Regions from separate parts of the Homo sapiens genome. Here all the other regions are linked to region 5. The links are contacts of gene promoters, found by promoter capture Hi-C in human tissues and cell types (Jung and others, 2019). All regions are on one chromosome and are shown on one strand. Each heading gives the region's core, a stretch centred on a gene start or on the middle of the fragment in contact. The rest is flanking DNA. Distances are from core to core; before and after follow the strand shown.

Evidence for each region. Contacts are between HindIII fragments. The study calls those that stand out against the background at their distance.
Region 1: a fragment that was not itself captured here is called in contact with the fragment with the promoter of SALL1 in region 5 in 2 of the 25 tissues and cell types used here (dorsolateral prefrontal cortex and hippocampus).
Region 2: a contact is called between a fragment that was not itself captured here and the fragment with the promoter of SALL1 in region 5, in 2 of the 25 tissues and cell types used here (H1 embryonic stem cells and mesenchymal stem cells).
Region 3: a fragment that was not itself captured here is called in contact with the fragment with the promoter of SALL1 in region 5 in 3 of the 25 tissues and cell types used here (H1 embryonic stem cells, mesendoderm cells and thymus).
Region 4: a fragment that was not itself captured here is called in contact with the fragment with the promoter of SALL1 in region 5 in 2 of the 25 tissues and cell types used here (H1 embryonic stem cells and dorsolateral prefrontal cortex).

What each region holds. Positions count from the first base shown.
Region 1 is chr16:50,836,318-50,839,017 of GRCh38, forward strand. No RefSeq gene overlaps it. Among named protein-coding and RNA genes, the nearest start is that of LINC02128, 2.4 kb to the right of the region's middle. RefSeq lists an enhancer at 1-870. The HindIII fragment of the contact is 9,915 bases long and covers 1-2,700 here.
Region 2 is chr16:51,471,700-51,474,399 of GRCh38, forward strand. All of the region lies in intron 2 of LOC102723323 (a long non-coding RNA gene), which reads right to left. Among named protein-coding and RNA genes, the nearest start is that of HNRNPA1L3, 170 kb to the right of the region's middle. The HindIII fragment of the contact is 3,503 bases long and covers 1-2,700 here.
Region 3 is chr16:51,455,163-51,457,862 of GRCh38, forward strand. The region is part of intron 2 of LOC102723323 (a long non-coding RNA gene); the gene reads right to left. Among named protein-coding and RNA genes, the nearest start is that of HNRNPA1L3, 190 kb to the right of the region's middle. The HindIII fragment of the contact is 3,931 bases long and covers 1-2,700 here.
Region 4 is chr16:51,430,141-51,432,840 of GRCh38, forward strand. The region is part of intron 2 of LOC102723323 (a long non-coding RNA gene); the gene reads right to left. Among named protein-coding and RNA genes, the nearest start is that of HNRNPA1L3, 210 kb to the right of the region's middle. The HindIII fragment of the contact is 3,903 bases long and covers 1-2,700 here.
Region 5 is chr16:51,150,010-51,152,709 of GRCh38, forward strand. It overlaps SALL1 (spalt like transcription factor 1), which reads right to left and starts at 1,261. Exons shown (of 3, transcript NM_002968.3): 1 at 1,157-1,261. The coding sequence starts at 1,232. RefSeq lists an enhancer at 458-958. The HindIII fragment of the contact is 9,229 bases long and covers 1-2,700 here.

The DNA of each region.
Region 1 (2,700 bases), core at 132-2,631, 310 kb before region 5:
AGTTTGTATTTTCAAAGCAAGCAAGAAAGAAACCCGTCAGTGTGGGCCAGATCCCGTCTTCCGCCTGAGGGCGAGCCGGCATTTGGGGAGGGAAAAAAATACTATACATATTTCTAATCAAACATTACATATTTATTAATGTGCAGCTGGTGCATTGTATTCCGAGGGTTGGTGGTGGGAGTGTCTCTCCCCCCACCCCCACGCCACCCGCCTTGTTCCTCTAATGTGTCTTGCCTGGCAGGCTGGTATTGTTCTGTAACTGACATTACTTTATAAGAATCAGAGCTGCGCACATTTAATAGGAGTTATGGAGACAATTGCTCTCTGAGCGGTTGGGGTCTCTGTGACGTAGGTGCCATCTGAGCCTCAGTTTCTGTTCTGGGAGTGGACAGAATGGGCAATGGAGGTATTTTTAGGCAGATGTACCTGAGATACTGTTGATGGGGAAGCCCCCAGCACCTTCACTGCCACCCCTACACCACAGCCTGGGTCCCATCCATGAAGGCCATGGCTCCTGCCCACATGTCTGTGCTCTCTCTAAACGTGGGAACAAATTTATTTTGATGCTTATTGAGATTAAACTTGCTGCGCATTTCATCGGGAACAGGGGTTGGATCTGTTCATTAGGTGGGGAGGCTCACCTTGTCAATTTCCATTGAGCACTGGCAAAAGCGACCACTTTATCATCATTTGTCAGCAGCCTCGACAGGTTTTACTCAGCTCTGATTCCTCCTGGGCCCTGCTGTCATAACTTCATTGGCTTTATGGTAGCAGCTGAGTTCCCTTAGGTAATTGTCTAATAGATCTATTTTGCCTTAATATTGGTAATTCACTAAATGTAAAAGAACGCAGAAGAGAGGCTGAAACATTAAACACCAGACATGCCACACACTCCTGCAACAACCCCAGCCCCACCCTAAACTACTGTCTCCATCCATCTTTGGAAATCCCATTATATTTAGTAGGAGGGGATTGGTCTTTTTCAGCTTTGAAAAATTGGAGCTGAGACTTCAGCCTCCCTCTGGTCTTATGGGCCAAAGGAATTTAACATGGGATCGTGGAAAGGGCTCTGGGCCAGGGCTCAGGGGCATGTGGCTCCTGGGGCCCAGGGCTGGCAGCACCTTTTTCCTTTTTGGGCCTCAGTCTTCCTATCTGTTTATCAGCAGGATGCCAAGGTTCTCACCCTCAGGATCACATGGGGGCCAAGCAGCAATGGAGATGGGCTAGTGAGCTGGATGGGGACGGTGGCAAGCTGGAGGGCACATGCCTCTCTGCCTGGAGGGGCAGCCACTACAGGTTGCCTTGGGCCAATGCAGGCCTGGTGGACCCAGAGGCTTAAGTTTTAATTTTATTTTACTATATTTTTCTTTTCCTGTTTTTATTTGGTTTGTTTGTTTGTTTTTTGTTTTGAGACATGATCTCACTCTGTTGCCCAGACTGGAGTGCAGTGGTTCGATCACAGCTTACTGCAGCAATTGTAGTCCCTCTGGGCTCAAGCAATCCCACGACCTTAGCCTCTGAGTAGCTGGGACTACAGGTGCGTGCCACCATACCCAACCTTTTTTTTTTTTTTTTTTTTTTTGTAGAGATGGAGTCTTACTATGTTGCCCAGGCTGGTCTTGAACTCTTGGACACAAGTGATCCTCTCTCCTTGGCCTCCCAAAGTGCTGGGATTACAGGCATGAGCCACTGTGCCCCACTGAGGTTTGGATTTTTAAACAAAAACTAGGATTCTAAATTTATATGTCTACTGTTTTAATGTTTTAGTACTGGCACTGAATTTAAAAAAGCATTCTTAATAAAATAAAATGTCTGCTGGCAATGATGAGTTATGGTGATGACAATGGTGATTAATGATAGCTAACATTAGTGAGCGCTCATCATGTATCAGGGTCAGTTTTGGACTGGTTTCATCCTTACAACAATGCTAAAAGACATGTCCTGGTGTTGTCCCTGTTTCACAGGTGAGGAAATGGAAGCACAGTGAGTAACTTGCCCAAGATCACTGTCTTTGCTGCTCAGTTGATTGGGTAATTGACTTCCAGGAAATTAGAGATCTACTGACAAGGTACCCTGGGCCTGCGTGGAAAATATGACATCAAGATAGATTTCCTGGCAAAGGCCAACTTATTACAACATTCCACTTAGAAAAAAAATCTATGCACTTAAAAAAAACCACAGCCAGGCACAGTGGCTCATGCCTATAATCCTAGCAGTTTGGGAGGCTGAGGCAGGAGGATTGCATTAGATCAAGAGTTTGAGACCAGCCTGGGTAACACAGCAAGACTGTCTGTACAAAAAATATTTAAAAAACCAGCCATGCCTGGTGGTGCACACCTGTAGTTCTAGCTACTTGGGAGGCTGAGGTGGGAGGATAGTTGGAGCCCAGGAGTTCGAGGCTTCAGTGAGCTATGACTGCACCATTGCACTCCAGCCTGGGTGACAGAGCGAGACCCTGTCTCAAAAAACAAAAACAAAAAAACCAACACACTTGTTTTCTGGAAGATTTTACCTATATACTACCACTGTCCTTCAGAACCATGGGTTTTCCTTAAGTAGCAGGGAATAACCATGTTGATTACTAAGTCGCAGGCCAGAAGGAAAGAACTTGACTTGGGATTTCCTGAATTTATTACAGCGTACTTTATTTCATAGGCTAAAACTGTGTCTTAGGTTCAATGAACTATGTGAAAACTCTGG
Region 2 (2,700 bases), core at 32-2,531, 320 kb after region 5:
CTCTAGAAACGTATGCAGCTTGCTGCATCTATAAATAGTACATTTTTATTGTTGAGTAGAGCTGCATGGTATGGATGTACCACATTTGTTTCACCATTCACCCGTTGAAAGATATTTAGGTTGCTTTCAGTTTGGAGATATTATAAACAAAGCTGCTATAAACATTTGCATACAGATGTGTGTAAACAGAAGTGTTAATCTTAGATGAATGCACAGGAGTGCAATTGCTAGACCCTATGGTGATTGCATGTTTCGTTCTTAAGGAAACTAACAAACTGTTTTTCAGATTGGCTGTGCCATTTCACATCCCCACCAGCAATATATGAATGGCCTAGTTTCTCTGTACCCTCGCCAGCATTTGGTGTTGTCATCTTTTTAATTTTAGCATTCTGAGAGATGTGTAGTGATATCTCATTGTAATTTTTCTAATGGCTGATGATGTTGAACATCCCCAGATCCCAAAGGCTATAGCCTATTTTTTTTTTTTTTAAGTGGTGGCCGGGCGCGGTGGCTCACATCTATTATCCCAGCACTTTTGAAGGCCGAGGTGGGCGGATCACATGAGGTCAGTAGTTCGACACCAGCCTGGCCAACATGGCCAAACCCCGTCTCTACTAATAATACAAAAATTAGCCGGACGTGGTGGCGTGCACCTGTAATCCCAGCTACTTGGGAGGCTGAGGCAGGAGAATCACTTGAACCTGGGAGGCAGAAGTTGCAGTGGGCCAAGACCATGCCATTGCACTCCAGCCTGGGCAGAAAGAGCAAAACTCCGTCTCAAAAAAAAAAAAGTTTCATAGTTGTACATCTTACATTTAAGTTTGTGATTCATTGTTTTCATACATTTATTAATTTTAATTGAAATATAATTCACAAACCATAAAATTTACCATTTTTAAGTATGCAATCCAGTGGTTTTTAGTATATTCACGAGATTGTGCCACGTCACTGCTATCTAGGTCCAGAACATTTTTACCGCCCCAAAATGAAACTCCACACCTGTTTGCAGTCACTCCCACTCTCCTCCCTGCAACTCCTGGCAAGCAGTAATTCACTTTCTGTCTCTATGGATTTTCTATTTCTTGACTTTTCAAACAAATAGAATTATATGACATGATATGTGACATTTTGTGTCGACTTCTTTTGCTTAGCATATTTTCAATGTTTATCCACTATAGCATATATCAAGCTTCATTTTTATGGCTGAATAATATTCCGTTGCATGTCTATACCATATTTATGTACCCTTTCATCAGTTGATGGGCATCTGGGTGGGTTCCACATTTTGTTTTTCATAAATAATGCTCCATGATGTTCTGTGAACATCATGTATACATTTTTGTATGAACATATGTTTCCAATCCCCTTGGGTATAGATCAAGAGTTGAATTGCTGGATCGTATGGTTAATTGTTTATTCTTTTGAGGAATCAACAAACTGTTTTTCACAGTGACAGCACCATTTTATACTCTCAGGGTATCAGGGCTTTAATTTTTCCATATTCCTGCCAATGCTTGTTATCTTCTGGTTGTTTTGTTTATTTTATAAGGGGCTATGTTAGGGAATGCAGTGTGGTATCTTGTGGTTTTGGTTAGCATTTCCCTAAGGACAAATGATATTGAGCAACTTTTCGTACTTTTTGGCCATTTGTAAATTACCATTGAAGAAGCGTTTATTCATATCCTTTGTTCATTTAAAAATTTATTTTATTTCTTTTTATTGTTGAGTTGTAAAAGGTCTTTATACATTCTGGATACTAGACCTTTATCAGAGATATGATTGACAGATATTTTCTGACATTGTGTGTATTATCTCTTCACTTTCTTGATTGTGTCCTTTGATGCACAAAAGTTTTAAATTTTGTTGAAGTCTAACATATCTATTTTTTTCTTTGGTTGCTTGTGCTTTTGGTGTCATATCTAAGAAACTATTGCCTAATTTAAGGTTACAAAGATTTAAACCTATGTTTTCATCTTTATTATTTTAGATATTAAATTTAGGTCTTTGATTCCTTTTTGATTTATTTTCTTTTTTGTTTTTCTTTTTGAGATGGACTCTTGCACTGTTGCCCAGGCTGTAATGCAGTGGCATGATCTCCGCTGGCTACAACCTCTGCCTCCTGGGTTCAAGCAATTCTCTTGCCTCAGCCAACGAGTTAGCTGGGATTACAGGTGCCCACCACCACGCCCAGCTAATTTTTTTGTATTTTTAGTAGAAACGGGGTTTCACTATGTTGTCTAGGTTGGTCCTGAACTCCTGACCTCGTGATCCACCGCCTCGGCTTCCCATAGTGCTGGGATTACAGGTGTGAGCCACCATGCCTGGCCAATTTATTTTCTATATATGATGTGAGGTAGTGGTCCAAATTTTTTTTTTCGTGTAGCTACTTAATTGTCTTATTGCCATTTGTTGAAAAGAATATTCTTTCTCCATTGAACGGTTTTGGTAACTTTGTCAAAAATCAATTGACCATAGATGTATGGGCCCATTTCTGGTTCTTGATTCTATCAAATTGATCAATAGGTCTATCCTTATGCCATTACCATACTGTCTTAATTACTGTAAATTAGGAGTAGATTTTGAAATTGTAAATGGTGAGTCTTCCAACTTTGTTATACTTTTTAATTAATTAGTTTATTTTTGAGACAGGGTCTCACTCTATCACCCAGGCTGAGTGCAGTGAGATGATGACAGCTCACT
Region 3 (2,700 bases), core at 127-2,626, 310 kb after region 5:
GGATGACAAAGGAGATAAACAAAGCAAAACAAACAAACAAAAAACAAGATGGCTGGTGGCTCCACACTGGATAAAAGGTTGACTTGAATTGTCCCAAGATACCTTTCACTTCCTAACATTTGCCCTCACCTTTCCCCACCTCCAATCGTAAAAATACCAAAGTCTCATTCAGAGACACACTTGTCCACACAGAGCGGCCCGATTTGCCATCTGAGCGTCAGAAACACCTCAGACAAATCTTTCCTCAGGCAAGGAAATAGACAAATCAGTGTTTGGGCTTAGGATTCTCTTCCTGATTCTTCTTAGGGAGGAGGCTTGAGGATCCTACAGTTTTACAAATAAGACTAAAGCTTGCTGTGGTGGGAGATCACTGGTTTGGGGTCCTGATGCTTGATTTATATCCTTGAGGACTCTACATGTTTTCTTAGTCATTAAACCCTGTTTACCAGACCAAGTCTAAAATCTTGGTGGAGTCTGGATCCCTGGTATTTAGATTCAATGAGATGAATGCCTCAGAAATCACTCAGGTGAGAATCATCTCATTACAGTCTCATATGCACGCTATGGCATTAATGACTCTCTCTTTGTCAGATGCTAAGTGCAAAAAAAAAAAAAAAAAAAAAGAACTAACCCAAAAACATTCCTCTGAATATGTTTTTTATCTTCAAAAAGACCATCTTTCCCACCAACCAAGGCTTTTACTTATCTTTTTCTAGAGTGATTGCAGAGAAAATCAACTGTAAGAACTTTGCCACTGAACAATTAACTAATCATGTATCCACTTCCAATTGGGCTTATTTACTGAGCTTCAGCACTTAGGTGGGACACTTGGAGAAAGTGGGAACAGACTTTGTGCTAAGCTCAAAATAGACCCTTGTTTAACCCTTGTAAGAAAAACAGAGAAGAAGAAGGAGGAGCAGGGGAAGGAAGCAGAGGAGGAGAAAAGAAGATAAAGGAGGAGGAAAGAAGATTCTTTTTCTCTAAGATCTCACACTTCAACCAGGTTGGCAAGCCTAATGCCTCAGTATGACCTAAGAATTGAAGGCAGTTAGTAAAGCGTTGTTGTGCCAGGTGACCCCAGAGGAGAGGTCTATGTAAGCATTGAAAAATGAGATGCCAGGATTGGACAAAGGGACTGGGAGAGGTTCTTTAGGAAGAAGAAATTTATCCTTTCTTAAACGTCTCTTTTAATGGTGAAGACATATAGAGGTCTGGCAACCTGTCCCAAGCCATTCAGCCACAGGGGGAGAGCAGTGACCAGGACACCAGGGCAGCTATGCTAAGTCCAGTGCATCTCCCACAAGGCAGCAGTGACTTGTGTCTTCCTCCCTCACTCTGTCCCTCCTTCTCTTCCTTCTGCCTTCCTCCTTTCTTTCTTTATCCCTTCCATTAGTTGTTCAAGAAATATTCTGATTAGCAGAGTTGTCAAGTCCTCTCTGTACAGACTAACACTGTTTAAGGCATGGAGGAGGTGTTGGTATGCTTGGTGGGTCAGAGCTTAGACTTTGGAGAGCTCTAGGCTTCAATTCAAATTGTTGTTCACAGGTACCAGCAATTAGCTATGTGTCCAGGCCTAGTTATTTAACTCCATTAATCTGAGGGATTCTCCTCCATACGGTGGGATAATTATAATACATACTTTGAAGGATTTTGTGAAGAACAAAATGAAGTAATTCATATAAAGCAAAAAAAGAGTCACTAATATTATTAGTTTTGCTATCAGAAAATACCCAACAAAACAAAACTGGCTCAACATATCTTTATCTTTTATATTTCGGAGAACATACTGGGATCATCCTGAGAAGCTTCAGTTATCACTGTTGGAAAGAAGTTCAGAGGGACTGGGAAATCAAAATTTCTGCCCTTAAAAAAAACACAATGGCACTGAAAATCAAGCTTTAACTTGCTACAAAATGCTGAGTAGAAGAGAATGAAAGAAAAGCAAAAGCAGAGAGGCTGAATCACATGCTCAGGTGCCTTAGCAAGGACAGAATGATGTCTAAGGCCTGGAAGAATCTGTGACTTCAAAGGTTCTGCAGTGCCCACGCTGCAGAAGTGGTGCTTTGAGAGAAGGCCTCTGTCTGGGACATGAGATGAGGCATCTCCAAATGAAGTTTTCAGGCCCAGCCCCCATCTCTCCTCATCTTTTGCTGGTGACAGAGATGCATCATGGACATCAGAAATCTTGATTCTCTAGGACTTCTTCTTCTTTTTTTTTTTTTTTTTTTTTTTTTTTTTGACAGAGTCTCACTCTGTCACCCAGGCTAGAGTGCAGTGGCACAATCTCAGCTCACCTCCGCCTCCTGGGTTCAAGCACTTCTCCTCAGCCTCCCGGGTAGCTGGGATTACAAGTGAATGCCACCACGGCTGGCTAACTGTTCTATTTTTTTTTTTTTTTAGTAGAGATGGGGCTTCACCATGTTGGTCAGGCTGGTCTTGAACTCCTGACCTCGTGATCCACCCCCTCGGCTTCCCATAGAGCTGGGATTACAGGCATGAGCCACCACACCCGGCCCTTAGGATTTCTTCTTAAATGTCTTTCTGTAAGGCCCAGAATCTTTCTCTGCTCTACAAAGTCATTCCACATTAATATCAAAATCGAAGAGAACCTTGCCACTCTAAGACCTCAGGATCCTTCTTTCTGTGCCCTGACAACCTCCAATCTTATTTTAAAACTAGGGGAGAATTTGGCACTTTGCT
Region 4 (2,700 bases), core at 94-2,593, 280 kb after region 5:
GCCTGCCACCACGTCCAGCTAATTTTTGTATTTTTAGTAGAGACAAGGCTTTACCATATTGTTCAGGCTGGTCTCGAACTCCTGATTTAAGGTGATCCACCCACCTCGGCCTCCTGAAGTGCTGGGATTATAGGCATGAGCCACCGCACCTGGTCAGGAATATAGTTCTTGTTTTTAACCATCCTGCTCAAAATTAGGGTTCAAAATCAGCTCTTAACCCTCAGGGCTCAAAATCAGCTCTTTGGGGCATATAAGTATGGGAGGAGGGTGAGGCTGGTGTTATAAATTCAGAAGTCTTGCTGTCTTTCTCCACTTTCATTGTGTTCCCGTTTTCATTAATTCCTGTACCCAGAGTTTCTCTTTCCTCCAATAGCACATTATCTTCTCCCCATTAAAGCCTCTCATAGACATCACAAACAGTAGCTACTTGGAGGGCAGGGTCTTACTCACCTGTGGCCTAAGCTCACCTTCAATACAACCAACACAATCTAATCAAGACCAGTATTCTGTTATGTGTGTTTTATTAGAAACCATTTCTTCAGGATATATATATCCATTTCTCTATAGATATAGACATAGTTATTACATAGGTGTAAATTAAAAGATATATTTAAAATACAAATACATGTTTTAGAATTTTATGGCCAAATATATTTGGGCATCATTGTGTTAAACACAATTGAATACATTTTTCTGTTGTTGCAGATGCTTTAACAGAATAGTGTGCATTGTGATTCTCCAAGAAAGGGTTATTGTTGCAGCATTTCTCTACTTACTGGAACAAGAACCCTTATTTCTTGGAGGAGCTTATAGAACTACTGTCACTCCAAACCTGCTTGGGAGCATGACTTGCTTTAGGAGTTGTACTTATAGAGGATTTCTTTAACGAGGTCAAGCTGGGACTAGGTATGTTTTAGTGTCTTGTGCCAACTGGCTGATTTTGGAAGCTAAAAGAAGAATTAGCAGGAGGGTGAATTGTCTTTTATTTAGAGTTTAAAAACAGCTCCAGGGCATGTTTACCCAATAGGTTCTGCCCTACTAGTCATTAGGAAAGAAAACTTCTTGTACTTTGTGTGTTTTTATTTTGTGATCTTTCCCTAAAGAGCCAAGAGAGATCTCTGTCATTCTATCAAAGATATGATAAAGTCTCTCTCGATTTCACCCCTTGGTTCACCATTCCTTATGGGCATCATCTATGTGAGAGACACTAAGCCCAGTTCTACGGAGGTTATGAAGGGAACAAGTCTTGTTTTCTTCTCGCAATGTTGTAATTGAAGTATAAATAGAAGCATAATTTGGGAATTACTACTTGTCCTTTCTCATCAATCACCACTCTTTAAGCGTGCCACTGGGATAATTCTAAAAGTGCTAAGTCCTTCCTCTCAATTCCTTCCCTGACAATATCTGAAAGGGTTTTAGGAAGTATAGTAATATTTGAGTTGTATGCAAATTTCCTCTGCAGGAAAACATGGAGACGGTGGCTGGGGTATCGGTTGCACACAGTCTAAACATTCCCTGCAGTCTTAATTAACCACATTTGCTTTCCTCTTGCTTCAGGCTGAGTCAGCCCAACCACCACTGAAGCCAGTTACCAGCCTGTGTGATCACGTGATGTGTGACTACATCTTGGCCTGTGATAAACGATCGTGTCTCTTGACCCACAGGAGTTTGTAACATTCTTTTAGTGTATACCGAGTCATTACTATTGCACTGAACCAAAGTAAATGAATGTCTACTGCCATTGTCATAGAAAAAGAGGAAAGAAGGAAGGAAGGAAGGAAGGAAGGAAGGAAGGAAGGAAGGTAGGATCATCTGCTCTATATAAACTCCCCTGATCCTCCCAGGCGCAACTGAAGGATTTGTGCTTTCACAAAGCTTTGCGTAGACCTGCGCCTGGTTGTGCATTCTTTTCAGTCAGTCACTGTGGTAAGGTAGTAATTGCATGCCTGGGTTTAAATAATGATTCAACCCTTATCAATTGGCCATGTGAATCCAGGCAAACTATTTAAACTTTGTAAACTTCTCTTGCTAAGCCCTTAACTTTGTACTGGCCTAGCCCTAACTACTCTACACATATTAACTCATTGTTTCCTTTTGACAATGTTATAGGATGGTACTTCATTAACCCCAATTTACAACCAAGGCCAAGTAACGTCTCCAGGGTTGATGGGTGCATTTCCTTGTGAGGGTGAAATGAGATAGATAATCAGTGTAAAACCCTTCTTAGCACAGTGCTTGGTCCATAGTTAGCACATCAAATTATAATTTTCATTCATTAGTTTTTAAGATAAAGTTTACATAATATTATAATGTGTTAGGCATTATTCTAAATGTTTTAGACATATCATCTCATTCAACTCTATGAAGTAGGTATAGTTTTCATGTCCATTTCATAGATGAGGAAAGTGAGGCACAGACAGGTAAGAGATCTGCCCAAGGTCACACAGCTGTTTAGTGGTGGAGACTAAATTGCATCTCAGAAAGCCTGGCTCAGAGATCGCACTCTTAGTCTTTATAATAAACGATCACTAATATTGTTGTTTGTTTAAGTGTCTGTAGGCACCCATTTGCCCATGACTTTGGACAGGGACTGTTTCACAGTTTGTAATTTCTGTAAGCCTATAGCCCCACCCAATCCCTGCCACCTCCCACTACCTTCACACACAGAACTGGGAGGTTCTGGGTGAATTTGTTGTCGAA
Region 5 (2,700 bases), core at 11-2,510:
CGACCCGGGGACCCGAGTCCGGGCGCCGCTACACCGCCTCGGGCGCTAGGCCTGGGAGCTTTGAGGCCGGTACCGTGAAACACCTTTAGGAGCAAGGAGGGATTCCAGGTGTCCTCCCTTTGTACCCCAACTCCCTGCCCGGATCTCTTCCACTCTCTGCCATAGCCCCCACACACAAACTTTGTTCTGGACTTGTTCAGCCCCTTCGGGACCCACAGTTGTCGCCTCCATCGGAGAAAACAAGTGCCCCTGTTTCAGGGGGGATTCCACTCTGGCTGGCCACCCGCAAACCTGGAAAACTATTCTATGACTTCTTCCCTGACCCCCCTGGAAGTAGGGAGCACCACGATCCGCAGAGGGCGCATACCGACCAGAAAGATTTTGGGGGGCAGAGGGTGCAAGTGTTGTGGGAAGAGATGCGGAGATAAATTTTGCGAGCCAGACCCCGACACTTTCCCCGTCCGTTTGCACCGTCTCCGGAACAACTGGCGGCCAGCAGCACTCTCCACCCCGGCCGCAACCCCAGCGGGTCAGGCGCTGGCGCCCCGACACCAGTCCCCATCTTCTTGCAGCTCTGAACCTCCAAAGACACCCGGTTCTGCCTCGCAGGCCGAGGGGGAGTGTGCGTGGGGGCAGGGGGGCGCAGCGAACTCCCCCACGCTCGGAGTTCAGCCCAGCGCCCGAAGTAAACTTCCTTACCGCTGGCAGCAAGGCCGGGCGGCGGAGGCCGGGCCGGGTGCCCTGGGGCCGGCGCCGGGAGCGCTAGGGGCCCCGTGCGGTCAGGCCGGGGCGACCTCCACCCGCACCCACGCCTCATGGGGCTCCCGGGTCTTGGCCGCGGCTGGGATCCCCGGAAAAGCAGGGACGGAGAAGCCAGGCCGGCATGCCCGCCCTCCTTCCCCCGGGAGGACCCAACAACTCCGGAAAGATCCTGCCGGGAGATGTGCTCGCTTTCCCCGGGGCAGCGGGGGAAAGCCCAGCAAAGGCACATTGAAAATTAAAAAGAAAAAAAAAATTACGCCGAGTGGAAGAAGCAATCGGGGCCGCGGCGGCGGTGAGGTAGGGGGCGCGGGGGCCAGCCGCGTGTGAGTGGGTCCGAGTGTGCGTGAGTGTGAGTGCGTGTGTGTGTGTCCACGGCGCGGGCCGGAGCACTCACCATCTCGCCGGGGGAGCGAGGCCACTTCGGGGTCGGATTGGAAATGTTGAGGCTTCGCTTGCTTCCTCCGCGACATGCTGGCTCAAACATCAGCTGGGGCAGAATAAAAAATTACTAAAAAAAAATCTTCTCAAAATTACGGAAATCGAGCGGCGGCGGCGGCGGCGGCTCCCCCCGCCCGCCGGCCCGCCCGCCCCCTCCCCGGCTCCCCGGCCCCGGGCGCAGCGCGCATGTGTCCTGCTATAATTATGATTATCAATAATGCATTGCGATTAATCATAGAGGGGCTCTTTGAAAGGCGATTGGCACCGGGCCAGCGCTATTCAAACCCGCTCGCCTTAATCAATTAGTTCGTGATTTGCTGCAGACCCCTGTCTCTCCGCGCGCTGGCCCAATAAGCCGGCCGCGGGGCTGGCTCTGCGCGCCGCGCCGCCCGACACTGGGTTAACCCTCTTTGCGACCGCCCGGGACTCCGCGGCCCGGCCGCCGGGGGCCGGCCTCCTCTCCACTGCGGGCCCGGCGCCCCGGCAGGCGCCCCCCGCTCTCTCCCTCTCCCCTCCCTCTTCCCTCCCTCCTTCGCCCCCCCCCACAATCCCGGGCTGGGCCGACCCAAATTAGCATGCCCTCCCCGGAATTGAGCCGCCCCGGGTGGGGGGTGGGGCCGGGCGGCGAGGGCTGGGGACCCGGGCTGCCGGCGCGCTGCGAACTTCCCAACTCGGGGGCGAGGCGCGCCGGCCCGCGGGGGGAGGGAGTCCCGCGGCGGGATCAGGGGGGAGGGCGTCCCGTTTCGTGAGTGTTTCTTCGTTTCTTTAAGAGCTACCAGAAAGCAGCCCACCCCCACCCCCATTAAAAAAAAAAATAAGCGAGTGGGGAAGAGCCAGCCCCACGCCGGTCCGCCTCCCGCCCACGGCTCGGCCTCCCTCCCGCCTGGCTCGGCGCTCCTCCGCCCCGAGTTCTCCATCCCCTGGATCCCGGGCTCGCGGGGGCGCGGAGAAGAGGATCCAGGAAAGGTTTGGGAACCTGATGGGTTTGTGGCTGGGGGGAGGGGCAGTTCTCCCGCCACCCCATCCCCTCCCCGCCAGGGGCACTGATCCTCCAGCTTCTTGCTTGCTCCCTCGCTCCCTTTCTCTACCTCGGACATTCCCAGGACAATTAGGGCTGAAGTTTTCGGGAGAAGCAGCCCCGAGCCCGTGGGATAAGGGGGCGGCCCGGCTCCGCCCAGGACCCCTCCCGGACCTCCCCCCCGGCTGCCCCGGTTGGCTGCAGGGCGCGTCACTCCGCGGGGAGGCGGCGGCAGCGGTGGCGCCGCAGAGCCCCGGGCGGGCGGAGAGCGGGGACCGGCCTGGGCTCCGAGTTCAGCTCCGGCCGGGGGGAGGGGAGGGGCTGCGGCTCACACTGAGCGCAGCAGCGAGCACCGGCCTAGGGAGACACAGCCCGGGCGGACCCGGCACTGGACTGGGCCAGTCCCTGGGACCCCTGGGCACCCCGCCCTGGGGAGGGGGCCGCGCCCCAGCCTTCCGGGACGAGGTGGCGGCGCAGAGCCG